Regions from separate parts of the Homo sapiens genome. Here region 1 is linked to region 2. The links are contacts of gene promoters, found by promoter capture Hi-C in human tissues and cell types (Jung and others, 2019). All regions are on one chromosome and are shown on one strand. The core of a region is centred on a gene start or on the middle of the fragment in contact, and the rest is flanking DNA. Distances in the headings are between cores, read along the strand shown. Region 1 overlaps IMPACT (impact RWD domain protein). Region 2 holds the start of OSBPL1A (oxysterol binding protein like 1A).

Region 1 (5,633 bases), core at 137-2,636, 51 kb after region 2:
GGCTCTTTGAAGACAGATGCATGCCACTTACTTCCTTTATAATATGTCTTAGTACCTGTTGCTTTTATACAGTATATTCTCAATAAATGTTTTTCAATGATTGCTCTTGTTACTTCAAGGTTAAATGAAGTAAGGGGAATGTCACATGGATAAATTCACCTTCCCATAATAGCAACATTTCTGATATAAAGGAGATGCCTTTGATTCCTAGCTTTCCCAAGTATATAAAAAGGCAAACATACTGGATAGTAAACCGTCAGTGAAAATATATCTAATATAATACATATTTCAGGAAGGATTTAAAAAAATGAATATGCTGATTTTGGAAGTAATCAAAATGATCACAAATGTTGAGGAATAAGTTTTATTATAATATTTTAGTTTCAAAGTGTAATACTCTTACATGTATTTGCAGAATATATTGTGAGGATAAACAGACCTTCTTACAGGATTGTGAGGATGATGGGGAAACAGCAGCTGGTGGGCGTCTTCTTCATCTCATGGAGGTAGGTGTAAGTTAAACTATCAATCCTGTTCTGTACAAGCCATAAAATTTCTCAACAAAACAGAGCTCCATTTAGTAATAGCTAAGTCAGTTGAACTATGTAACATAAGATATATTTGATTTAATTAGTAGTTGATGTTAAAATATTGATTGAATGAAAATTTTAACCAGTGGATGTGGGACAGAAAGCAAATAATTAATAAGAAGTGCTATGCTTTCAAGACATAGACAATAGAAGATTGTCTTCAACTTTGGGAAAACACTTTGTTTTTTTGACAATTTCCTTCTCTTTATTTTTTCTATTCTTTCTTTATGGAACTCCGGTTAGTTGGATATTGGAACTTCTGGATAGATCCAGAATTTTTTTTTTTTAAATTGAGTTGTCCATCTCATTGTCTTTATATTCTGAGACATTTTCTTGACTGTTGTCCAAAATTTCTGTTGAATTTGAAATTTTGTTTAGCAGCCATATATTTAATTTTTAAGAGTTCTTTCTTGTTTTCTGTTTTTCCTTTTTAAGAATATCCTGTTCTGTTTTATGGCTCCAATATCTTCTAAAATTTCTCTGATTATATTAATTAGAGTTTCTTTTTTAAGATGTTCTCACCCCTAAAAAAATTTTTCCTGGTCCATTTTTGTTTGTTTATCTTGTCCTTTCTCTTTCATGCTGCTGGATTTTCTTCATCTGTCTGGTGATCATTTATTGTTCATTAATTTTAGGATTGGATTATTTTTTTCCTAAGGTAGTTACCTGGTTTTTTCTGCTCTTGTATGTGAAGGTTTATTTTCTAACAAGGCCTTTCCCTTGAATAGTAACTGTGTTTGTGGGTCAGGCCTGTAAACTGGTGGGCTTCACATTAAGGGCAGCATTTGACAAATGTCAAACTGATGAAGACGGCCAGGTATGGTGGCTCACACCTGTAACCCTAGCACTTTGGGAAGCTGAGGCGGGGAGATCACTTGAGCCCAGGAGTTCGAAACCAGCCTGGGCAACATGGTGAAACCCTGTCTCTACTAAAAAAACACAAAAATTAGCTGGGCATGGTGGTGCATGCACCTGTAGGTCCCAGCTACTTGGGAGGCTGGGGTGGGAGGATCACTTGAGCCCAGGAGGCAGAGGTTGCAGTGAGCCAAGATTGTGCCACTGCACTGTAGCCTGGGTGACAGAGTGAGACTGATCTAGATCTCAACTGATGAAACCTTACTAATAGCACCAGGGATATTGATGCCTCGTGCAGCCCCTGTAGCTTTGTTCAGAAGCAGGGTTTTTTTTGTTGTTATTTGGCCTAGTGGTAAAATGCTGCCTAAACTTAGCTGTTCTGGTTGAAGTCACCAGGTGCTAGAATCCTACTTGCATGGTCTCCCCTTCACTCTGTCCAGTTGCCCCAAATCTGGGAGTTTGAGGACATTGTGAAACACAGTGATGGTTTTCCAGATTCCCTTCTGTTCTTCCATTTCACTCCCTGAATTGTTAGTAATCTCACTCAGTGCCTACTCACTCATATGGCTCTACCATTAAAGTCACTGGGAAATTTTATGTGCAATTTTATACATGGGTTATTTCATTCTCCTTTTTTAAAACTCATATTTATACATGTCTGTCTATGTATCTAATTATGCTTCCAAAAAATAACAGATTTTGAATGTGAAGAATGTCATGGTGGTAGTATCACGCTGGTATGGAGGGATTCTGCTAGGACCAGATCGCTTTAAACATATCAACAACTGTGCCAGAAACATACTAGTGGAAAAGAACTACACAAATTCACCTGTAAGTGGCTCTTCGTACTACATCTAGAGAATTTCTCATCACTGCCTGGGAATTTTTTAAAAAGACAGAAAATTAAGAATGAATCAGAATGTGAGTGGTGAATTGGTAAAACCTTTGGACTCAGAACCTGGAGACCTAGACTCTAAACAGTGTGTCTGGCCAGTCACGTGACTTTGGACCGATCACTTAATCCCTTCGCACCTTGATTTCATAGGACAGACCACTTCATCCCTTCGCACCTTGATTTCATAGGTTCATAGAATTTTATAATTAGAAAAACCTTTTAAGACCAACTAGGTTCCATCCCTAAAATTGAGCCCCAGAGTGGTTGTAGCTGATATCACATCAGACTAGATGTTCTTTAAACATCTAGAAAATTCTGAAATTCTCTGTTAGTGTCAAAACATCTCCCCCTTCACTGGCATACCTTTAGATGCTTTCTTCCTTTATACTTTGAGTTTATTTTGTTTTATATTTTAGGTATGTTCATATCTGCCTTATTTAAATTTTACTGCCTTGGGAAAGTGGGGCAATAGATGAAATAATTTTGAAATTATTCAAACATAAATCCACTAGATAAATAAGGTTTCCTTGATTATTCTTGATTGTTTAAAAAATATTAGCCTATAAGTGAAAGTACCCTTTAAAACACAGAAATGACACATATAAAAGTGATTATACCCTCACTGTAACATATATACATACATACATATATGTATGAATATATGTGGAATATATATGTGTAAATATATTCTAAGTGATTAGATTGAAGATTTCATCTTTATGTAAATGGAGAGATGCTGCACTGATTTGTGTCTTTTTCAGGAGGAGTCATCTAAGGCTTTGGGAAAGAACAAAAAAGTAAGAAAAGACAAGAAGAGGAATGAACATTAATACCTGAAACTATAGGAAAGGTTAATTTGCCTATAATTATATATACATTCCATAGTCATCAAGGAATATATTGTGCAGAGAGAGTATCCTTGACTGCTTAAGTCAGCCAGTTCAGCATGGATACCAACATTAGCTTTTCTTCTTGGTTATATCATCTGCCAAAAATAGAGAACTTATGATCTATTCATGTGTGTTTCAGGCTTATTTGGGAGAACTAATTTGAACTTAATCACCACTTCATCTAATTTTAGCAAGGTAACAGTTGCCCAGGGCAGTACCTGAATTAACTGTCCATTTCAGTACATGTCAAGTGCCTTTGTTAGGTGGAGAAGAAATGTCTCTAGAGGAATATAAATACCTGATTTCTTGTCATCGAGATTCTTGTACTGTTAAATGAATATTGCCTTTTACTGCTCTTTATGGCTTATTGGAATAGGAGCTCATTTAAGATTGATCTTGGAGAGTTTCTTCTTGTGATTTTAGTTCATAAGTATGTCACCTTTCATTTTATAGTGTTCATCATTGAGTAATGGATTAAGTGAAAATCCAGGAGTATCCATCTGCAGTTATGTGCTGAGGTGATAATTCATCCAACATATTTGTTAGCATAAATATTATGCTTCAGTTTCTGTTGCAAATTGGTGATTGTGAAATTACAGAAAGTGATTTTCTAGTCTGCTTTTTTTGTTTAATTCTTGTAATGTAAGCAATAAATATGGAGTGTCAGTAGTCTCCTTCCACCCCAGAAATGTGTTGGTGTAACATTCTCGTTTCTTTTAACAACCTGGAAGTACCTTTCTTGTGATCTTCACTGAGGAATTAGAACTATGATAGAAGTTAGGCTGTGGCAAATGGGACATTCGTAGAGTGGGATAGAGGTGGCAGAATGAACCTGGTGTAGGGCAGGAGTATGTTGTGTAGTTACATCAATTTGATGCATGCTTTCCATCTGCACTCCAGACGGCTTTCTCAGTTCCAAGATTTTGCAGAGAGAAGGAGCAAACCTTTTCATTGGAAAAACAGAAACAACCCTCCCCCCCATTTTTTCCCCTCTATTCATCAAACCTTTATGTATCTTTCATCTTCCAGTTACCTCTAGGCATTTAGATAGTGAAATTTACCTTTGAGATATAACAATAAGTGATTAACTGTTCACTTTCAGATGTAATGGCAAACAATTGTTAAAAGTTATTAACTGATCACAGATTTGCCTGGACTTCCCTTCCCAGGGAGGGAACAGAAGTTAGGAGGCAACTTTGGGATGGTGCTAGAGCATGGAAAGCACAGAGAATTGGACAAACAGGTCTTTTTCTCTTTTCTCTGATGTTTTACCTTTAAAAGATCCAACATCCTTACCGTTGGTATTTTTAGTAAGGTTATAGTAAATAGCTTTACACCAGGATGGATTCTGAAATATAAATTCTAAATTATATTTGTTATAACTATATTTTATGTTGTATGTTATCAGGAGCCATCAGAGAATGACCTTTTTGTGTTTGGAACACTTGGTTCCATGAAAAGTATGCTTTGTGTTTTAACTGTTAAAATAATTTAAAAATTAATTATTTTACATAATTAAAGAAGTTAAAAACTATTAACATTAAATAATTTCACAATTTCAACATGTCAAACCTATGAAGGGAGATAGGAAACAATGAGAAACTTACTTTTGCTCCTTTATACAGAATTATTAACTATATTTTACTAACTAAAAAACTCTAGTATTCTTTACCTAAAGTCAATTGGCTGGTAAGAGGGAGAGATGCAAAATTCTCCAGCTCTGAACTTGGAGCTACTTCACACTCTACTCTTAATGGAAACTTGAACTAATGATAGATAGTATTTTTTTCCTCTATTTAAAATTTTTGTCTTGATTAGGAGATTTTTCAGTTCTCCATATAATAATTTTCTACAATCAGATCTATGCTGTGGCATATTTTGCTTTATTTAAAAATTTTTTTTTAGAGATGAGTTCTTGCTCTGTCACCTAGGCTGGAGTGCAGTGGCATGATCATGGCTCACTGCAGCCTTGACCTTCCAGCCTGCCAAGTAGCTGGGATTACAGACAGGCATGTGCTATTACACCTGGCTAATTTTTAAAGTTTTTTTTGTAAAGATAGGGTCTTTCTATGTTGCCCAGGCTCGTCTTGAGCTCCTGGCCTCAATCGATCTTCCTGCCAAGGTTTTGGAATTACAGGTGTGAGCCACCATGCCTGGCCTGCTTTGACATATTTTATAGTGTGTTAATTACAAATAGTCTTCATATGCCAGAATATAAGAGCAAGTGTTATCTACTTTTTAGATGGGAATTGCAGAAGCTGCATCAAAAGTATGCTTTGAGGTATATATAGTGAAACAGAGCCTTTCTGAAGAGAATTATATCAAACTAATTACAACCAAGAAATAATAGTATGAAGCGGATGCTGTTTGGAGGACAGGAAAATTTATCGGGAAAATTACATA
Region 2 (5,709 bases), core at 1-2,500:
CCCCCTATAAACTGTAGACAAAGCCCACCTAGTGGTTTAGAATTAGGGAATTAAAAGGTGGATTTTGTTACTATGCTGTAATTAAGAAATCTTCACAATTCCAGCTTGGGGTGGGGAGGGAGGGGGGTGGTTCAGAATTTATACCTATCAAACTGCTGCAAAAAATTCATTGTATCGGGGTTAGACTGCAAATACTTCTACCCCTCAAAACGAATCTGCAAATTATTTCCCAGATGCTGAGTAAAGAGGTGAGGAGGTTCCAAACTCCAAATCCAGAATGCACCTATTACAGGGCAAAGACTGAAGTTTTCAGGGAAAACACATCACCGATTTTAAAGCTGATTTAATTATATTATTAACTATTCACAGACACCTAATAGCCACATTTGCAACATTCAAGCAACCTTATTTAAGCTAAGAATATCACACTGCCCACAGTTCCATTTCACAATACCGTCTGCCTAAAAACGACAACTTGAACTGAAAACTAATACTAAATCAGAATAACCCTTTTCAATGCCTCCTGCCAATCATTAGGGCAGCGGGATAAGTGAATTGTTAAAGTCTATTGTGCAGCTGCGCTCTCATTCAGTTTCAGAATCTCCCTTGGATATTCGTTCATGCTTGTAGAACCGACCACGCGGTACATTGGGAAACGGTCACATGAACAATGCGTGACTTCCATTGTGCATCAATCCTCCTCTTGTTAGGAGGAAATTAAAAAGTCACATGGACACACGAAAGTACCGAGAAGGCACGCAGCTGAAGATCTGGTAGGGGATGCATGCGGCACCAGCATGGTCGTGGCACCCGAGTGGGAAGTGCAACAAACGCCAACATCTTGTTACTTTTAACGCCTAACTTCCTGCAGCGCTGGAGCAGCCAGCGGCCGCCGGGAAGCCGAGCTCGGCTGCAGCCCTGCGTCGCCGCGCCACGACCCGACCATCCTCTGAGACGCCCGGGACGGGAGCGCCCACCCCCAACCAGGCGCGGACAGACCTCCCGAGCGCAGCCCGGCGGGAACCCGTCAGCGCGGGAACCGGCCTCGAACTCCAGGCGTGGACAGCCGCGAGAAACTGACCTACGCGGTCACCCGGGCTCCCAGAGCTCCCGAGGCGGTGGCCACGACCCCAGGCTTCCCGTCCGCCCGCCCCACGTCGAGGAAGTGGTCGTCACCAACTCTGGCTGGCACTCCCCGAGGACGCTCGAGCCCGCGTAACGTCTGTCTCCGGGACCCGGCGCCGGGACCACGGCGGAGCGCGAGGTGGCGCCGCCCCTCCCCGCAGCCCGCCCCTGGAACGCGCATCCTCCTGGCGAGCTGGCATCCCTCCCGACACGTGACCGCAGCGGGGACACGCCCGTTCCCCGCCCACTCCCCGCCCCTGCCTGGCCTGCCCACGCCCCCGGCCCGCTCCTGTCCCGCCTGGGCCACCGGCGCTGGTTCCAGGTTTTGCCAGCTACTAGGGACGCGTAAAGCCTTCGCGCTCCTCCCACCACACCCCGAGGGAAGAAGTGGCAGGCCTTACCCGGAGACTACAAGGAACCGCCCGTGTGAGCCAGTGGAAGACTCGCGTCCCCAGGCAAAATATAAGTCCTGGGTTAATAGTCTGAAGTCTGTCATTAAGCAATAGGTTATCCAGCTGCCCAGATTTTTTTCTTTTTTGCTTTGGCTGCAACTCGACCCGTGGGAACTTAATTGGCAATGTAAATTAGACAATTTACAAAAAAACACCTCCTTTTACTTTCACCTGTGAAAGGAAGCGCTTAAAATGCCATACAGGTGTAACCATTATAGAATAGATATGCGTGAGACAAGGATTTACAAAATTTCCTCACCTCCTCTCCTCCAGATTCCATGCACAAGGCGTCTAGCTAGAGGAGTTAGCAAATAGTCTATAACGTGAAGGTTCAAACTCTAGTATAATTCCACCGTTTTTGTTTTTTTCTTTTTTTGAGGCAAGGTCTCACTCTGTCTCCCAAGCTGGAGTGTAGTGGCGCGATCTCGGCTCACTGCAGCATCGTCTTCTGGGTTCAAGCGATCCTCCGGCCTCAGCTGGACTACAGGCGGGTAATCAAGGGACTGGGACTACAGGCGCGCCCTGCCGCGCCCGGACAAGTTTTGTATTTTTAGTAGAGACAGACTCTCCCTATGTTGCCCAGGCTGGTCTCCAACTCCTGGGCCTCCCAAAGTGTTGGGATTACAGGCGTGAGTCACCCCTGCAGGCCACAGCTTTGCTTTTTAAAAGCATTTCTGCATAACTAAAAAGACAGGAAATTACGAGCATACGAAAACTGATTTCTGCTTTCCTGAATTTTCTAAATGTATTTAATGAACATGTTCTTTTGCAATGAAAAAGTAATAAATAGGTATCATTTTTAAAAGGACTGTAGTTTTTCCATCAAGTCTAGAAGCATGTATTGAGAACCTATAATAGGCCCTTTTGGTCATTGTGATATGTGTGAAACAGCATATGGCAGATCTTTTGAAATGATGTTTTTGGATACCACAAGCAATCCTGCTGGTGTATCTCAGGCTGGCATCATCTTTTATTAACAAAGCAGGCACTTTACTAGCACAATACTTCAACTGCAAAATGTGTGGTAACTAAAGCAGCTGTATTTGTCTGGAAAAGAAGAAACCTCAGGGCTTACTATCTAAGGATATTGAACCATCTTTTTTTTTTTTTTTGAGATGGAGTTTTACTCTTGTGCAGTGGTGCAATCTCAGCTCACTGCAACCTCTGCCTCCGAGGTTCAAGCGATTCTCCTGCCTCAGCCTCCTAAGTAGCTGGGACTATAGGTGCGTGCCACCATACCCGGCTAACTTTTGTATTTTTAGTAGAGATAGGGTTTCACTATGTTTGTCAGTCTGATCTCAAACTCCTGATCTCAGGTGATCCACCCACTTCAGCCTCCCAAGGTGCTGGGATTATAGGTGTGAGCCACCACACCCAGCCTTGAACCATCTTCATAGCCAAAATAAAACTACCGAAATAATGACAATAATAATTGGCTACTGAAATAATTTTCCATGATTCCATGAAAGCCTTCATTCTCTCTGTGATGATTTAATTACCTAAATTCACAACTTGCACTTTGCAACTCCCTTCTACAGTTTGCAAATGAAAAACAGATTGCAGTCAATAGGAGGATGAAGTAGTAATCACTACAGTTATCAATAAGAGAAGTTCCAATCTTGATAGCATTACTATTTATACTGTATCTTTAAAGGACTTTATTTGGTATTTCCATAAAATATGCAGAAAAGATATCTCATGGGCATTTATATTATTGACGGCTAGTACAGGTAAAATCACCATGATGGCATAACAGAATTCATTATTCTAGAACACTGTGTCTAATGGAACTTTCTGCGATGATAGAAATGTTCTATAATTCTACCTTGTCCAGTACAGTAGCCACTAGCCACATGTGGCTATTGAGTACTTGAAATGTGGCCAGTGTGACTGACGGTTTCAAGTTTTATTTAATTTAAATAGCCACATGTGGATAGCAGTTACCATATTGGGCAGTGCAGTTCTAGAATAACAAAACTATCACTAGATTGTCCCCGTCATATCATACTCTATTTTAAGAAACATTTGGCAGAAGTAGAACCTCTGGAACTAGTTAATAAATATTTTCCTTCATATTCCTTTCTGAGCTTTAGGCAGATAGATATTTTAACTTTGCAGATGCGGCATATTAAAGTAACTAGTAATATAATCCCTACATATATAAGTAGGAATTGCAATGGAAGCTCTGACTGGTTGTGAAATGGATTTGGGAGTATCTAACCCCTGGCCCTGCCATTCCCGGGCCTGCCTGACCCACATTGAAAAGTGAACCGGGTAACTTAAGACTGGGATGGGCTTCATCAGAATTGTTCATTGCCTGGTTCAGACTGGATTCACCTTGGACTCTTTTGTTTCAGGAAACTTAGGAGCCCAAATCTCTCTACTGTCATCCCCCTCCCCGCATTCCAATGACCTCCTTCAGAATGTGATCCTCTTTAGATTGTAGTACCTAATGTCTGGTCCTTGCAGTTTTGTCTCAAGCCTGAGACATCCCAGAATGCACTTAGTGCATTGCATGTTTTAAAAACACTCCCCTGGTGCCAGTGTGACTTTGAAGTGGTGCAGGAACACGCTAAAGGCTTAAGTCTCATTAAAAGGAGGATTTTATGGACTGAGACTTTGGGGAGGGCTTTGGGTAATTACTGCCTGGAATACTGAAAAGTAGGTCAGATGTCATCAGGCGAATGCAGATAAACCATTGAGTTGAGGGAAATGAATCATTCCCTTATACCTACATATGAAAGACTTTGTAGTTACTATTAACTCCAGACCATCAAAGCTATGAGGTCATTGGGAGTTTTTCTCTCTTAAAAGTGGTCTAAATTTGTTATTTGTCATTTGTGCCATTTCACTCAGTTTATTTAATAACAGGAATGAATTGGTATAGTTTCAGATATTAAATTCTTTTGGTCTAGACTTAATTTTGTACCCATCTCTCTTTTCCTGCAGGTATGACACACAGATGTCTAAGCAACTGCCTTCCAGCAGTGATTGATTTTGCTGGTTCCCCACACAAAAAGTTTGGAAGAGACCCTTATGTCTTCTGTAGAGTTTCTTGGTTGTAAGCAGCAAGCACTGGTGCTGGCTAACTTAAGCAAATAAAGAATATATCACTCAGACATCAAAGAAACAGCTGGAAATCTGGCTTGGCAAAGGCCGGATTAGGGCACTCCTGGGGATGTGGGTAGTAGGAATAGTCTATAGTTTTTCCTCAGTGCCAACACTGGGAAAGAATATGTTCCAATTATTTTCATTTTCCTATCCTTTTGTCTTTCTTCAGAAGAAGCAAAGTTGAGAGATAGTCTTTCATAGCTTTTCCCATAAGGTATGTTCTCCTTGGGCAACATTTTCAACTCAACCTTTAGCCCTTAGCTTGCTTTTTCTTTTTTTTTTTCTTTATTTTTTTTATTTTTGAGACGAGGGTCTTGCTCTGTCACCCAGGCTAGAGTACAGTGGCATGATCATGGCTCACTGCAGCCTCAACCTCTCAGGCTCAAGCAGTTCTCCCACCTCAGCCTCCCAAGTAGCTGGGACTACTGGCGCGAGCCACCATGCCCAGCTAACTTTTGTTTATTTTTTATAGAGACAGGGTCACACTATGTTGCCCAGGGTGGTCTCAAACTCTGGTTTGAGCAATCTGCCCACCTTGGCCTCCCAAAGTGCTGGGATTACAGGCATGAACCACCTCACCTGGCCTTTCTTTATTCATCATGAATATACCCTGCTTAGCCTGGTCAACATGGAGAAACTCTGTCTCTACAAAACAAAAATTAGCCAGGCATGGTGGTGTGGCCTGTAGTCCCAGCTACTGAGGAGGCTGAGGTGGGAGGATCACTTGAACCTGGCAGGTGGAGGCTGCAGTGAACTGAGATCACATCACTGCACTTCAGCCTGGGAGACAGAGACCCTGCCTCAAAAAACAAACAAACAAACAAACAAAAAAGAATATATTCCGCTTTTCTATCCCTAATTGTCTGCTCAAGCAGTGTGCCTGACAGTCACATGACCCCTTCTAGGAAGCCTTGGAAAGTCTGCCCTGCCTATTGCCCCTTTTTGAGGACTTCATTATGCAACCTACAATTCTTGGCTCAGCTGAAGGAGCAAGAGCAGGGCCTCCTAAATGGCACCTTTC

The links. Contacts are between HindIII fragments. The study calls those that stand out against the background at their distance.
Region 1: a fragment that was not itself captured here is called in contact with the fragment with the promoter of OSBPL1A in region 2 in 1 of the 25 tissues and cell types used here (spleen).

The regions. Positions count from the first base shown.
Region 1 is chr18:24,447,678-24,453,310 of GRCh38, forward strand. IMPACT (impact RWD domain protein) reads left to right here. Exons shown (of 11, transcript NM_018439.4): 9 at 416-506; 10 at 2,142-2,276; 11 at 3,102-5,633. The coding sequence ends at 3,170. Among named protein-coding and RNA genes, the nearest start is that of HRH4, 10 kb to the right of the region's middle. The HindIII fragment of the contact is 7,986 bases long and covers 1-5,379 here.
Region 2 is chr18:24,396,574-24,402,282 of GRCh38, forward strand. OSBPL1A (oxysterol binding protein like 1A) reads right to left here and starts at 1,251. Exons shown (of 28, transcript NM_080597.4): 1 at 1,082-1,251. LOC124904268 (a long non-coding RNA gene) reads left to right here. Exons shown (of 3, transcript XR_007066314.1): 3 at 4,527-5,709. RefSeq lists a silencer at 1,185-1,314. The HindIII fragment of the contact is 24,691 bases long and covers 1-5,709 here.